Linked DNA regions of Homo sapiens: region 2 is linked to region 1. Evidence: promoter capture Hi-C in human tissues and cell types (Jung and others, 2019). All regions are on one chromosome and are shown on one strand. Each heading gives the region's core, a stretch centred on a gene start or on the middle of the fragment in contact. The rest is flanking DNA. Distances are from core to core; before and after follow the strand shown.

The links. The method cuts DNA at HindIII sites, captures the fragments that hold promoters and counts their contacts. A contact is called where the count stands out against the background at its distance.
Region 2: a contact is called between a fragment that was not itself captured here and the fragment with the promoter of GNG5 in region 1, in 1 of the 25 tissues and cell types used here (hippocampus).

Annotation. Positions count from the first base shown.
Region 1 is chr1:84,500,652-84,508,592 of GRCh38, forward strand. GNG5 (G protein subunit gamma 5) reads right to left here and starts at 5,930. Exons shown (of 4, transcript NM_005274.3): 1 at 5,785-5,930; 2 at 5,360-5,650; 3 at 1,175-1,319. The coding sequence starts at 5,440. The coding sequence ends at 1,194. SPATA1 (spermatogenesis associated 1) reads left to right here and starts at 5,735. Exons shown (of 14, transcript NM_001397487.1): 1 at 5,735-5,767. RefSeq lists an enhancer at 3,031-3,536 and silencers at 5,196-5,325, 5,576-5,655. The HindIII fragment of the contact is 15,510 bases long and covers 2,232-7,941 here.
Region 2 is chr1:83,983,247-83,991,187 of GRCh38, forward strand. All of the region lies in intron 1 of TTLL7 (tubulin tyrosine ligase like 7), which reads right to left. TTLL7-IT1 (TTLL7 intronic transcript 1) reads right to left here and starts at 1,054. Exons shown (of 2, transcript NR_046841.1): 1 at 586-1,054. The HindIII fragment of the contact is 6,292 bases long and covers 105-6,396 here.

The DNA of each region.
Region 1 (7,941 bases), core at 4,680-7,179:
ATGTGCATTTTTGTGCACATGACACCTGTTTTCAAAGGGCTTTTTTTCCCCCTGGTATTTCAAAAAACTTAAACATCTTAACCAATCATTGTATTTACTGGAAACATGTACTTATACAGACTTCCTGGACACTCCCAGGTCTAGGAAGCTTAATTAAGGAGGGCACAACTATGTAACAAGGTATTTTAGGAAGCAGCTTCCTGGACTTTGGAGAAGTCAGAAAGTTAGTAAGGGGTGTGTGCCATATACAAAATCTTTTTTAAAAAAGTACTATTAGTTTAAGTTTGCTTCTCATAGGTCAATACTAATGAGTACATTCCCTAACTAAAGTACTAAGAATTTATAAAAGGCAGCACCCTTCAGTTACATTTTAAATGATCCAAAACGTTTTTGGTCACATCTCTTAGATTAACATACATTTTGTACACATGACATTTGATCTGGAAGGCACAAATTAATGTACTGAAGCATGCTTTAATAAAGCCAACAGGGTCTTTAGTTTTTAATTCTCTGAAATTCAGTCCACTGTCTGTTTGCCACCAAGAACTTATATACTGCATTTCCTTCATGTTTTATCTTTAATCTAACAAATGAGAACAAAATATAAAGTCTGTTCTACCTCAGTCCAAACGCCTCTACCACACTGGCTTACTCAATTACATCTGACTTTCTCTTGCATTTCCAATTCCCAATCTTTGCTATACTGCTCTACAGCTGGGTTCAGTTAGAGCAATAACATCAAGAGTTAATCCAAATCAGTTGGTAGTACTTTAAGTTATCCCCATAAACATTGCAGATTTTTTAAAAACTGTCTAAATATTTGCCAGGTACACAAAAACAAAACTAGTACTTGGGGACTCCATTAGGCCAATGCTCTAAAAAGTAACACATGGCTTGTTACGGCAGTGGGATTTTGTAGTAACTCTCCTATACCCTCTTTATGGTTATTAAATCCTCTACTTAACCTTCTTTATGGTAAAATAGAAACGATTAGCCTTCATGGCTACTAAGTCAGCAAGTTTCATGAATCCTCACTTTCCTTGCAAAACAGAAAAATACTGGAAATGGAGGGCCAAAGGAAAGGGCATGGGATGATCTTTTAAGTGCTGCAAAGAAAGAGAAGACTAGTTATTCCTACAGTGTGGGTTTTTGTTTTAAATTTAAGGAAACTTACCTTTGAAAGATTCATTTTACTACAAAAAGGAACAGACTTTCTGGGGTCTGAAGGGATTTGTACTTGAAGATACTCCAGTCAGCAGAGGGTCATGTTGAGCATTCTGCAGACAGAACTGTTTCAAGTCTGCAGCTGCCTGGGAAACCTATACATAACAAAGAGGGGGGGAAGTGCCAGATGGTGAGAACATTTTAATGAAGGTTTTCTCAATCTTTGGAAATATTGTACTTACAATAAAACAGTACTTCTCTTGCTTCAAAAGAAGATACTATATAATAATTGAAGACTTAAGTCAAATAGTGAGCTCTTTTTTTTTTTTTTTTTTTTTTTGAGACGGAGTCTCACTCTGTTGCCAGGCTGGAGTACAGTGGTGCGATCTCGGCTCACTGCAACCTCCGCCTCGGTTCAAGCGATTCTCCTGCCTCAGCCTCCTGAGTAGCTGGGACTACAGGCGCACGTCACCACGCCCAGCTAGTTTTTCTATTTTTAGTAGAGACGGGGTTTCACCGTGTTGGCCAGGATGGTCTCTCTCTCTTGACCTCGTGATCCGCCCACCTCGGCCTCCCAAAGTGCTGAGATTACAGGTGTGAGCCACCACGCCCAGCCTAGTGAGCTCTTAATACTTAAAACTAGTGCTTGCAAATAAGACTGATTTAATTAAGTATGTTTTCTTTTGCTTGGTTACTAGAAGCATCAGATGACTGAGTACAAACAGTAGAATTATGTTGATTTTTGCAAAGCGTAGCACATCTTGCTTATTAATAATAGGCTGTTCAAGTGCAAACCTGAGGGTACTTAACATCTTATTAAAAACATTAAGGGTTAAACAAAAAGCAATAACATTCTAGCAAACTATTACTTTGTCTTGAAAGCAGTATTACTGGAAAAATGCTACTGTGAATGAACATAATGTGGGATAACTAGCACATAATTTAGAAAAGCCAACACTAAGAATGCATTCAGTATACTGATCCTCAAATTTATCAGACCCTTATACTGTCTTGCATTTAAACTAAAACAAATTAAAAGAGGCATGCATTCATTCACTTAGACATCTACTATTTCTATATATTCTGCTAAGGTGATGTAGGATATAAACAAAATAACCATAAAGCCATTGAAGTTCCTTAAGTCCTGTTTGGGTGGCTCTGTATATGTATATTAACACTTAAATCATATTTAAGGCAATAGTTTCTTAAAGGCAGGCTGCTCAGAAAAACTGTTAAATTGAAGTTTGCTAGCAGCCTTTCAGTCACGTGACACTGGGCAGAAATCTGTCACTGTCTAGTTTAATAACATTAACGGACCCGTTCAGACGTGGAACATGAATGACTAAAACATGCCCCAAATGCATCTAATATCTGAAGTCTTGAACTGAGATTTAAAAAGTGGGAGAAATACTCATTTATTTTATTCTCAGTCTTTATCCGCAAGGAGGCTGGGAGCAGGTGTCCAGTCCATCCAGCTGGATATGTGGCCTCAGGGAATTAATAGCATCACAAATGCTCTCTATACCAAGAACCCCTGCAGATTACAGCTGTACCTCCAACCTAATAATTCTTCATCCTAAGATGAATCTAAACGCTTATCGAATCTATTTGTGTGTTTTGCTTATACAGCAGTCCAGAGTAATGAGTTCCATAGGTTTATTAGCTCCTATGTAAAAGAAGTATTTTTACAAATGACTACACCCCCTCATCCCCCGCCTTCCAAAAGAAGTGTAGCTAAAGTAGGGGAACAATGGTGTCATTTTTCACCAAATATTGTAATAGTGTTTAGTGTTTTCATTCATATTAACCAGCAGGAAGCATAAAGAGTACCTGTTAATTTTCTGTTTAAAGTGTAGGTGGGGTCCAATGTAACTCGCTTTCACAATTTTCAAGCACCACTATGTGCCGCATATACTTACAGGCACTAAGAATACATAAGAACAGCCAGAGCCCTGTTGTTATGGAGCTAACAGTTCAGAGAAAATGACAGACAAGGTGCTCTGTAGTAAAATGAATAATCTTTTAGATGGTGACTGGGTGCCCACCTAAGGGAAGGTGTCTGAGGTGACATTGAAGCTGAGATCTCAATGACAAGAGATCCAGCCAAATAACCATCAGTGAGAAACAGCATTCCAAACAGTGAGGAAAGCTGAGACAAAGACTCTAAAACTGGAACAAGCTGCTAGCCCCTAAGGCACTGTAACAATCACCATCCAGGAGGTTGAAACCCTGTAATCCTGGCCTATTAGTGCCCCTTCTCACTCTCAAAAATGTCCTGACCTACCTATGACAGTTTGTCAAGCACTTATGGTAAGTTCTATCAATTGTACTCACACATAAAGGTTAAAAGTAAGATTGTGCTAGTTTAAAAATCTCACAAAAAAATCACCTAGCCCAGTCATTGATAAAACAGATACACAACGTTAAACCACATTTAGCAACATGTCTAAAGAAAAGCTCATTAAAAAGTACAAAAGGGGATGCTCCCCTTCTTGCTACAGCCTTAACATCAGGCAATAACTCCAAAACCAAATCATGTCTGGTGCCTTTAATGATCCCGACCAGAACCAGAAGTCTACTGAAGATTTAGGTAGGATCAGTTTTGGGGAATTAGGGGAGCAGCAGCTAGGGTTTTCAAAGTAAAGCTCTTGGAGTATTTTAGCCTGAGAACCTCATGTCATTTTCTTTGGAGACTAAAGATGTACAATTTATTGCTTTCACTATCCCACCCCCATTTTTTTTTCTTGGTCCATCCTATCTATGATAAAGGCACACCTGAATGACATTTAATGGTTACGAAATAAATGATTTCGAGTTTCAGAGCCAAATCCAGCCAAGACTGACTAGAAACCACTGTGATGAGGTAAGAATTGGGAGAGTAGAGAAATGGATTCCAAACTGCAGTGAGGTCTACAGCATTTCAAGGACTGGACGTGAGGGGGATCCCACACCAAGACGAATGAGAATTCCCTTCCCTTCTGAGTTGACCACAACTGAGTAAGCTAGGTCCCTGACATTTCTAGTTAACAAAACTAAATGGGAGACTCTCTCTCAGGAGGATCCTGCACCAAGACGAATGAGAATTTCCCTTCCCTTCTGAGGTGACCACAACTGAGTAAGCTAGGTCTCTGACACTTCTAGTTAAGAAAGCTTAGAGACCCTCTCAGTTCACAAAACATTTCGGCAAGTAATAAAGACTAGCCTGATGAGTATAAAATCAAATCATCTTAGGAACTGGCTGCTTTTAACAGGGCACATGATTTACATTCTTGTTTCTTTTTTTAACTGCAGAAGTGTTTCACATGTAGCCTGACCTATTGTACCAGAAAGAAGCCAATCCATTTAGGACTGTAAAAATCAGGAAATACTTAGAACAGCACTTGAATGTCAAGTTATTCTATCAACACAGACAAAAGGCTTTTTCTCCCAAAGTACCCCAAGACAAGGCCAATACTAACCAGACGCCAAAATAAGACCAATAATTACCCACAATAATCATTTTCTCCGGCATGCGGACCAGTCGATATCCCCAAGGTCAAATATGAGCAAACTGTGCCATAGGTATGAAATGCACGCTTTGTTCGAGGTTGTACGGGGCACTGACCGGAACTTTACACTCCAGGATCGTTTCGAAAAATGCTTATTCAATCCACAGTTTAAGTTATGCAATAATTCGCTTAAAAGTATGTGTTCAACGGACAAGAGAAGTTGAAGGTAAGAATTTAATACTAAAGGAAGTAGGTTTGGGAAAGATCAAATGGGAGAAAAGTCTGCTCTGAATCAAAAGTCGGAAAATACCCTGTCCGATGAGAAACAGGAGGCTGGCAAAGTGGGAAAGGAAGGGTGCGGACAGCGCGCGGAGGCGCAGCTGTTGGTGAGACCAGCCGAGAAGGCTGCCAAGGGAGGTAGAGACGGAGGAGGACCGGAATGTCGGCCACGGTTCAACCCAGGGGCCAGCCCGCCTCGGAAAGTCCTGGGGCGGAAGGGCGAACTAATCGTCCCCCTAAAACACAGCGTAGACCCACGCGGCGCCTGCTCTAAAGCTGGCCGCTCCCCGATCGCCGCCGCTGAGCGCGCGTCCTCTCCAGGGGAAGCGAGGGCCGGCGCGTGTCCCGCCCGCCCCCGCCAGCTGGGCCGCCGGATCCCACCCGCCGCCGCCGCCTTCCTCCCGCCTCGGCCGCCCGCCCCCGCTCACTTTTACGCGGTTGAGTCCGGCCTCCAGCCGGAGCTGTTGAACCACTTTCTTCATAGCGGCGACGCTGGAGGAGCCAGACATGGTGCACGCGACGGCCGGGCCGATTCGTGGGTCGGTGGGTCGTGGGCCGTGGGTCGGCGGGGCCAGACAACTCAGCGGCGCGCGGCGGGGGCGGGGCTCCGAACTTTGTCTCTAAGTTTCCGGTTCTGTGCTCAGCGGCTCCACCCTCGGTGCGCATGCGCGCCTTGCCAGCCCTCTGTTCCAGCTCCACACCCGGCCCCGAGCGCGAGCCTGGAGGAGGGGGAGGAGAAGGGGCGGAGCAGTCGGTGGGCGCGGCGGCTGCTGGAGGCTAGCGCGACCCGACTCTTAAGTTTTCTTTTCCTCTCCAGAGGGGCCGATTAGGGAGAGGTAAGGAGAGAGCTTACCGTTAGCCGCGAAGAACTAAGAGGGGGTCTGAAGAGGACCAGGGAGGGAAGGCAGAGCTTGTGGGAGTTTCTAAAAGGCCCGGCGGCGGGTGACCAGGAGGTCTCAGTTTTCCTCCCAGTTTGTGGGAAGGGTTGAGGGAAGTGAGGGGAGATACTGGGTGAGGCGTAGGAGCTACTGTGCACCCGGCGTGAGTCACCCGCACACCCCCGCCCCGTACAGGCGTGTCTCTCTGTGACCCGAGTTTGGCCAACAGGCATTTTCAGTTCCACCCCCAACCCCCAGCCCCGCTGACCCGAGGCGGAGAGCAGGCGCGGAGGTCGCTGTCGCGTACCCAGCGGAGCCGGGCGGGCGGGGAGCAGGGGCGCTGATTCGCTGGAGAAGGGATCTTCTCGAGGTTTGACTTTACTGGCTTCTTAGCTCTTGAATCGGTTTTTCTGAAGGAGATTGTGAAGAAGCCAAGGTGCTGGCTGAAGATTACACCTGTCTGCTCGGTTACCCATTTACTCTGGAGAATTAATGCTTATTGTACTTTTTAAAATAAAACTTATTTTTGTGTTTCCGGAAAGTTTGCTCTTTAGTATTTCCGTTGTAATTTATTACCTCCTGCTTGAAATTGAGTACCAAAGGAGTTTTTAGGAGAGAGGGTAGGGTCTAACCAAACAAAATAGGCTCAGCCAGTAGGTCTTTCTTTCATCCACGGAAATATGTGTGTTATGTCACAGCACTAAGGGCAGATGTTTCCTATTTCTTTTCGGGTAGTCAATCTCCGAATGCGCTGATGTTTTCCATTAATGTTAATAATTTTATCATTAATGGATTTCAAATTTTTTATTAGGGAAGCATGTGTAATTGCACTGGTCAACAAAATCTAATTTATTTACTCAACAGTTTATATCAGTTCGCAAAAATGTACATCGTAAGTTTAGCATTTTACTTAATTCATACGGATGTAATGATTGGGGTTAAAACCAGGGTTTGAATTCTGGCTCTGCTACTTACGGTATTCTTGGGCAAGCCACTTAAGTTACTGAGGCTTTATTTCCTTATTTCAAAGTAAATTATACAGCTTCGTAGAGTTGTTTTTCGGAATGAAATGACATTATATGTAAAAAGAATGTGAAAGCTATCTCAATAAATATTGTCTTTTCCCAAAAGGTATTGTAATTATTTCACCTTTGGTGCTTTGTTGACTGTATAATGCTAAAACGTCATTCATACTTTACAGATTTGTAAGATTAAACACAAGTATCTATTCAAAGAATGATCTGTTTTACAGTAGTTGTAAAATATATCACTGAACTCTTAGAACCGTGGTATGTTAATGCTGGAAGAGATTTTAGGGAATATATGGTCCAATAATTACTTCTGTGAGGGAGACTGTTGAGGAATAAGCAGTGTTTTAGGCCGAAACAGTTTCAGAAAAAAAAAAAATTGTTGCTTTTTTATTAACTGCTGCATTGGGAAACCACAGACTGGAGTGCTGTCTCAAACACCAGGTGTTATTTTTTTGTAGCGTGTGTTTAAAGATTCTATTTAGGATACAAAAGAAAAATAAAACATTGAGGCCTGGTATGGTGGCTCACGCCTGTAATCCCAGCACTTTAGCAGGCTGAGGCGAGCAGATCACGAGGTCAAGAGATCGAGACCATCCTGGCCAACGTGGGGAAACCGTCTCTACTAAAAAATACAAAAATTAGCTGGGCGTGGTGGTGCGCGCCACCCAGGAGTCCCAGCTGCCCAGGAGGCTTGATGCAGGAGATTCGCTTGAACCTGGGAGGCAGAGGTTGCAGTGAGCCGAGATGGCACCACTGCACTCCAGCCTGGCGACAGAGTGAGACTCCGTCTCAAAAAAAAAAAAACAAAACCATTGAGATAACTTTAAGTTCAGTTGCATCTGAAGTGATTACCAGTAAATATAGTTTATGAACTATCTGTATCTCTTAAACTTTTGTTTAGATGTTCTTTGACCTTCCACAATGATCTAAGACATTTCAAACATGTTACCAACTGTACAGACATAGATGCTCACTGTTCAGTTGGTTGAAGACTGGCCTGTTGTCACCAAGAGGATTCTTTTAGCAATAAATGCCAAGAAAAGACCACCAAGTAATCTGTCACTTTATGTTTTGTCAGCAGAGCACTGTCAATTTAAATTT
Region 2 (7,941 bases), core at 2,001-4,500, 520 kb before region 1:
CTTGAACCCAGGAGGCGGAGGCTGCAGTGAGCCGAGATCACGCCACTGCACTCCAGACTGGTGACAGAACGAGACTCTGTCTCAAAAACAAATAAATAAATAAATAAGCAATAAGAAAAAGACTGTCTATTCAATAAATGACACTGGAATAACTGGCTAGCCACATGCAGAAGCAAGAAACTGGACAAACTACCTCTCACCACAAGCAAAAATTAACTCAAGATGGATTAAAGATTTAAATGTAACCCCTCAAACTATAAAAATCCTAGAAGAAAACCTAGGAAATACCCTTCCTAGCAAACACTGGCTTTGACAAAGAGTTTATGGCTAAGTGCCCAAATGCAACTGCAACAATAACAAAAATTGACAAGTGGGATCTCATCAAACTAAAGAGCTTTTGTACAGCAAAAGAAACTATCAACAGAGTAAACAGACAACCTACAGAATGGGAGAAAATATTTGCAAACCATGTATCTGACAAAGCTATAATATCCAGAATCTGAAAGGAACTTAAATAGCTGAAAAATCAAAAAACAAATAATTTTGTTAAAAAATGGGCAAAAGGCTGAGTGCAGTGGCTCACACCTGTGATCTTGCAATTTGGAAGGCCGACGCAGGAAGAGAGCTGGAGCCCAGAGTTTGAGACCGGCCAGGGCAATATAATGAGACTTCATCTCTACAAACTATAAACAAAATTAGCTGAGTATGGTGGTGTGCACCTTTAGTCCTAGCTACTCAGGAGGCTGAGATAGAAGGACTGCTTCAGCCCAGGAGGTCAAGGCTACAGTGAGCCAAGATTGTGCCACTACACTCCACCCTGGGTGACAGAGTGAGACCCTGTTTCAAAAAAAAAATGGGCAAAAGACATGAACAGACACTTCTCAAAAGAAGATGGACAAGTGGCCAACAAACATGAAAAAATGCTCAACATCACTAATCATCAGAGAAATGCAAATCAAAACCACAATGAGATACCATCTCGCATCAGTCAGAATGGCAACTAACAAAAAGTCAAAAACCAACAGATGCCAGCAAGGCTGCAGAGAAAAGAGAACACTTATACACTGCTGGTGGGAATGTGAATTAGTTCAGTCACTGTGGAAGGCAGTTTGGAGATTTCTCAAAATAACTTAAAACAGAACTACCATTCATCCCAGCAATCCCATTACTGGATATATATCCAAAAGAAAATAAGTTGTTCTACCAAAAAGATACATGCACTTGTATAATATGTTCACTGCAGCACTATTCACAATAGCAAAGACATGAAATCAACCGAGGTGCCCATCAACAGTGGACTGGATAAATACAATGTGGTACATATACACATGGAATGCTATGCAGCCATAAAAAGAATGAGATTATATCTTTTGCAGCAACATGGATGCAGCTGGAGGCCATTATCCTAAGCAAATTAACACAGGAACAGGAAACCAAATACTGCATGTTCTCACTTATAAGTGGCAGCTAAACATGGGGTACTCACAGACATAAAGATGGCAACAGTAGACTCTGGGGACTACTAGAGAGGGGAGAGAGGGAGGGGGACGTGGGCTGAAAAACTACTGATTGGGTACTATGCTCACTAAATGGGTTATGGGACTATCCATATTCCAAACCTCAGCATCATGCAATATACCCAGGTAACAAAACTGCATATGTACCCCTTGTATCCAAAATAAAATAAAATAAAATAAAGTCTTCTAAAAGAATGTATAAAATTGATAAACATCTAGCAAAACTGACAAGGATTTTGTATTAGTCATGGTTCTCCAGAGGAACAGAACTAGTAGGATATATGACTACATATATAAGGGAGTTTATTAGGGAGAATTGGCTCACAGGATTACAAGACAAAGTCCCACAATAGGCCGCCTGTAAGCTGGGGAAGACAGAAGCTGGTAGTGGCTCAGTCTGAGTCCGAAAGCTTCAAACCAGGGAAGCCGACAGTATAGCCTTCAGTCTGTGGCCAGAGGCCCAAAAACCCCTGGCAATTCCCTGGTGCAAGTCCCAGAGTCCAAAGGCCAAAGAACCTGCAGTTTGAGGTCCAAAGGGCAGGAGAAGCAGAAGGAAGCATCCAAGGCTGGAGAAAGAAGGCAGCCAGAAGGCTCAGCAAGCAAAGCTTATCCCACCTTCTTCTGGCTGCTTTGTTCTAGCCACACTGGCACAATGAGGGTGGGTCTTCCTCTACCAGTCCACTGACTCAAATGTCAATCTCCTCTGGCAGTACCCTCACAGACACCCCTAGAAATAATACTTTACCAGCTATCTAGGCATCCTTCAATCCAACCAAGTTGACACCTAATATTAACCATCACAGATTTTTTAAAAGATAAGACTCAAGTCACCAACATCAAAAATGAAACAAAGACGGGGGACGATTGCTTGAGCCCAGGAGTTCGAGACCAACCTGGGCAACATAGCAAGGCCTGTCTCTTAAAAATAAATAAATAAATAAATAAACAAAAATTTTAAAAAACCTATCTCAACAGAATCTAAAGACAATAAAAGGATAATAAGGGAAAATTATGAATAACTTTACTGTTATGAATTCAACAACTTAGCAAAACTAATCAATTTCTTAAAAAAACACAAACTGCCCAATCTCAGGCAAGATAAAACAGATCACCTAAATAGTTCTATAACTACTAAAGAAATAATTCTGATTTTGTCATTAAATATCCTGAAAAAGAAATGTCCAGACCAAGGTGGTTTTATTATGGGATTTTGCCAAACACTCAATGAAGAATTAACACCATTTTTAAACAAACTCTTTCAGAAAATAGAAGAAGAAACACTTTCCAACTCATTTTATGAGATCAATAGTACTCTGACAACCAAAACCAAAGAAGCACCAGAAAAAGAAACTACAGACCAATATATTTCATTCACTTAGATGCAAAAATCCTTAAAATTTTGCAAACTGAATCTAACAATATTTGTGGATATATTGTGTGTGTACCTAATGTGTGTATATGTATAATGTGTGTGTATGTATAATATATGTATAAGTATGTGCTGTCATGACAAAGTGAGATTTATTTCATGTATGCAAGGCTGATTCAATATTCAAAAATAAATCAATGTAACCTACCATATCAATAAGCTAAGAAAGAAAAATCATACATCCATATCAATTGATACTAAAAAAAGTATTTGATGTAATCCAACATTCATTCAGGATAAAATGTCTCAGCATACTAAGGACAGAGAGAAACTTTCTTGACCCCGTAAAGAGCAGGTACAAAAAACCTACATAATTAGCATTACATTTAATAGTGAAAGACTGATTTCCTTCTATGATTAAGAAGAAGGCAGCCAGGCATGGTGGCTCACGCCTGTAATCCCAGCTCTTTGGGAGGCCGAGGCCGGTGTATCACCTGAGGTCAGGAGTTCGAGACCAGCCTGACCAATAATTGTGAAATCCCCTACTAAAAACACAAAATTGGCCAGGAGTGGTGGCATGCACCTGTGTCCCAGCTACTCAAGAGGCTGAGACAGCAGAATTGCTTGAATCCGGGAGGCAGAGGTTGCAGGGAGCCAAGATCGTGCCACTGCACACTATCCTGGGCAACAAAGCAAGACTCCATCTCAAAAAAAAAGAAGAAGAAGAAGAAGGCAAGGATGTCCACTCTCACCACTTTTATTGAACATAGTACAGGAAGTTCCAGCCATTGCAATAAAGCAAGAAAAATGAAGACATATGGATTGGAAAGAAATAAAACTGTCTCTATTTTCTGATGACATGATTGTCTACATTTAAAAAAAACCCTCAAAGTGAAGAACACAAGATCAACACACAAAAATCAATTGCATTTCTATATCTTGACAATGAAGAAATGGAAATGAAAATTTAAAACATAGGTATAATTTTCCAAAGAAAATTTAAAACACAGGTATAATTTTCCAAAGAAAATTTAAAATATAGGTATAAATCTAAGATAACATGTGCAAGATTTACATAATTAAAATTATAATTTGTGCAGGAAGGTTTACATGGAAAAAAAAAAGAAAAAACAAAAAAAAATTAAAAAAATATAAAATCCTGATGAAAGAAATCAATGAAGACTTAAACACCTGGGGACATGCCATGTCCATGGATTGAAAGAAGCAACGCAGTGATGATGGCAATTCTCCCTAAATCAACGTATAGGTTTAACACAATTTCAATTAACATTTGGTTAAGTTACAACAACAAAATTCTACATTAGATAGATTTTTTTAAAGTGGCTCTTCCACAGAGACAAATTCCATTGAAATTAATTTCAATTTGTAAAATAATTATGGCATGTATCATCATTACATAGTCTCAAGAATACTACTGTGGACTTTAAATAAGGAGGAAAGGAATTAGTAAACAGCAATTTGAAACAATTCTAACGATTTTTTTTAAAACTGCTAATAACAACAAATGCTACACAAGCAACAAAAGCAAAAATAAACAAATGGGTCTAAATCAACTTTAAACTTTTTGTGCACCAAGGGACACAATCAACAGAGTGAAAAGGCAATGTACAAAATGAGAAAATGTTTGCAAAACATATTATCTGACAAGGAGTTGATACCTAGAATATATAAAGAACTACAACTCAACAAGAAAAAATCAAATAACCCTATTTGTTTATTTATTCTATAATTTCAACTTTTATTTTAGATTCAGGGGGTACATGTACAGGTTTGTCACCTGAGTATATTGCATGATGCTGAGGTTTGGGGTATAATTGATTCCATCACACAGGTAGTGAGCATAGTACCCAATTGGTAGTTTTTCAGCCCACATTCTTCACCCTCCTACCTCCATATAGTAATCCCCAGAGTCTATTGTTGTCATCTTTACGTCCATGAGTACCCAATGTTTAGCTGCCACTTATAAGTGAGAACATGCAGTATTTGGTTACCTGTTCCTGCGTTAATTTGCTTAAGATAATGGCCTCCAGCTGCATCCATGTTGCTGCAAAAGATATCTCATTCTTTTTATGGCTGCGTAGCATTCTATGGTGTATATGTACCACATTTTATTTATCCAATCCACCGCTGATGGCACCTCGGTTGATTTCATGTCTTTGCTATTGTGAATAGTGCTGCAATGAACATATTATACAAGTACATGTATCTTTTTGGTAGAACAACTTATTTTCTTTTGGATATATATCCAGTAATGGGATTGCTGGGTCGAATAGTAGTTCTGTTTTAAGTTATTTGAGAAATCTCTGAACTGCTTTCCACAGTGACTGAACTAATTTACATTCTCACCAGTAGTGTATAAGCGTTCTCTTTTCTCTGCAGCCTTGCTGGCATCTGTTGGTTTTTGACTTTTCGTTAGTTGCCATTCTGACTGATGCGAGATGGTATCTCATTGTGGTTTTGATTTGCATGTCTCTGGTGATTAGTGATGTTGAGCACTTTGTCATATTTGTTAGCCAGTTGTCCATCTTCTTTTGAGAAGTGTCTGTTCGTGTCTTTGGCCACCTTTTTTTTTTTAAGATGGAGTCTCGCCCTGTCTCCAAGCTGGGGTGCGGTGGCACGATCTCAGCTCACTGCAGTCTCCGTCTCCCGGATTCAAGCTATTCTCCTGCCTCAGCCTCCCAAGTAGCTGGAACTAGAGGCGTGCACCCACCACGCCCAGCTAATTTTTGTATTTTTAGTAGAGACGGGGTTTCACCATGTTGGCCAGGATGGTCTCAGTCTCCTGACTTTGTGATCCGCCCTCCTCGGCCCTCCAAAGTGCTGGGATTACAGGCATGAGCCACCACGCCTGGCCTTTTGCCCACCTTTTAATGGTGTTGTTTTTTGTTTGTTCAACTGTTTAAGTTCTTTAGATTCTGGATATTAGACCTTTGTCACATACATAGTTTGCAGGCATTTTCTCCCATTCTGTAGGTTGTCTGTCTACTCTGCTGTTAGTTTATTTTGCCGTACAGAAGCTCTTTACTTTGGCTAGGTCCCACCTATAAATTTTTTTGCTGCAATTGCTTTTGGGGACTTAGCCATAAATCCTTCATCAAGGCAATGTTGGGAAGGGTATTTCCTAGGTTTTCTTATAGGATTTTTATAGTTTGAGGACTTATATTTAAATCTTTAAAACAGCTAGTTTTTCTACACGGTGAGGGGTAGGTGTCCAGTTTCATTTTTCTGCATATGGCTAGCCAGTTATCCCAGTATCTTTTATTGAACAGGGAAACAGGAAGTCTTTTCCATATTAGTTTTGTCAACTTTGTTAACCATGTGGCTTTATTTCTGGATTCTCTATTCTATTTCCCTGGTCTATGTGTCTGTTTTTGTACCAGTACTATGGCTATTTTGTTTACTACAGCCTTACAGTATATAGTTTGAAGTCAGGTATTGTGATGCCTCCAGCTTTGTTCTTTTTGCTTAGGATTGCTTTAGCTATGCAGGGTCTTTTTTGGTTCCCTATGAATTTTCAAATAGTTTTTGTTTTGTTTTGTTTTTTTAGTTCTGTGAAAAATGACTTTGGTAGCTTGATAAGTATAGCACTGAATCTGTAGACTGCTTTGGGCAGTATGGCCATTTTAACAATATTGATTAATCCAATCCATGAGCATGGAATGTTTTTTTCGTACTCTCTGATTTCTTTCAGCAGTGTCTTGTAGCTGTCCTTGCAGAGATCTTTCACCTCCTTGATTAGATGTATTCTTAGGCTTTGGTTGTTGTTGTTATTATTGATGTTGGGGATTTTTTTTTGTGGCTACTGTAAGTGGGATTGCATTCTTGATTTGGCTCTTAGCTTGAATGCTATTGGTGTATAGAAATGTTACTGGTTTTTGTGCATTGGTCTTTTATCCTGAAACTGTATAACAGCTGTTTATAAGTTCCAGGGGCTTTTTGGCAGAGTCTTTAGGGTTTTCTAGGTATTGGATCGTATCAATAAGGAGAGATGATTTGACTTCTTATTTGGATGCCTTTTTTTTTTTTTTTTTTTGAGACGGAGTCTCGCTCTGTCGCCCAGGCCGGACTGCGGACTGCAGTGGCGCAATCTCGGCTCACTGCAAGCTCCGCTTCCTGGGTTCACGCCATTCTCCTGCCTCAGCCTCCTGAGTAGCTGGGACTACAGGCGCCCGCCACTGCGCCCGGCTAATTTTTTGTATTTTTAGTAGAGATGGGGTTTCACCTTGTTAGCCAGGATGGTCTCGATCTCCTGACCTCATGATCCACCCGCCTCGGCCTCCCAAAGTGCTGGGATTACAGGCGTGAGCCACCGCGCCCGGCCTGGATGCCTTTTATTTCTTTCTCTTGCCTGATTGCTCTGGCTAGGACTTCCAATAACCCTATTTAAAAATGGGCTAATGCCTTGAATAGAAAGAGGATATACAAATGACCAATAAGCAAATGAAAAGATGTCCAATGTTACTAATCATAAGAGAAATACAAATCAAATCTGTAACAAATATCATATTGCACCCATTAAGACAGCTACAATCAAAATATCACAAAATAAGTGGCAAGGTTGAGGAGAAATTGTAACACCTGTGCACTGTTGGTGTGATAGTAAAATGGTGCAACTCCTATGGAAAACAATATGGAGGTTCCTCAAAAATTAAAAATAGAACTACCATATACTCCAGCAATTTCACTTCAGGGTATAATCTGAAAAAAATTAACAGCACAGTCTTGAAGAGGTATTTGCATGCCCATGTTCATAGAAGCAGTGTTCACAACAGCCAACAGGTGGAAGCAACACAACTGTCCATGGATGATGAATGGATAAACAAATGTGGTACATACTTATAACGGAATAGTATTCAGCTTTAAAAACTAAGGAAATTCTGACATATCCTACAACATGGATGAACTTGGAGGACATTATATTAAGTGAAATAAGCCAGTTACAAAAGACAAGTATGTATGATTCCGCTTGTATGAGGTATCTAAAGTGGTCAAATTCATAGAAACATAAAGTAGAATAGTGGTTACCAGGGGCAG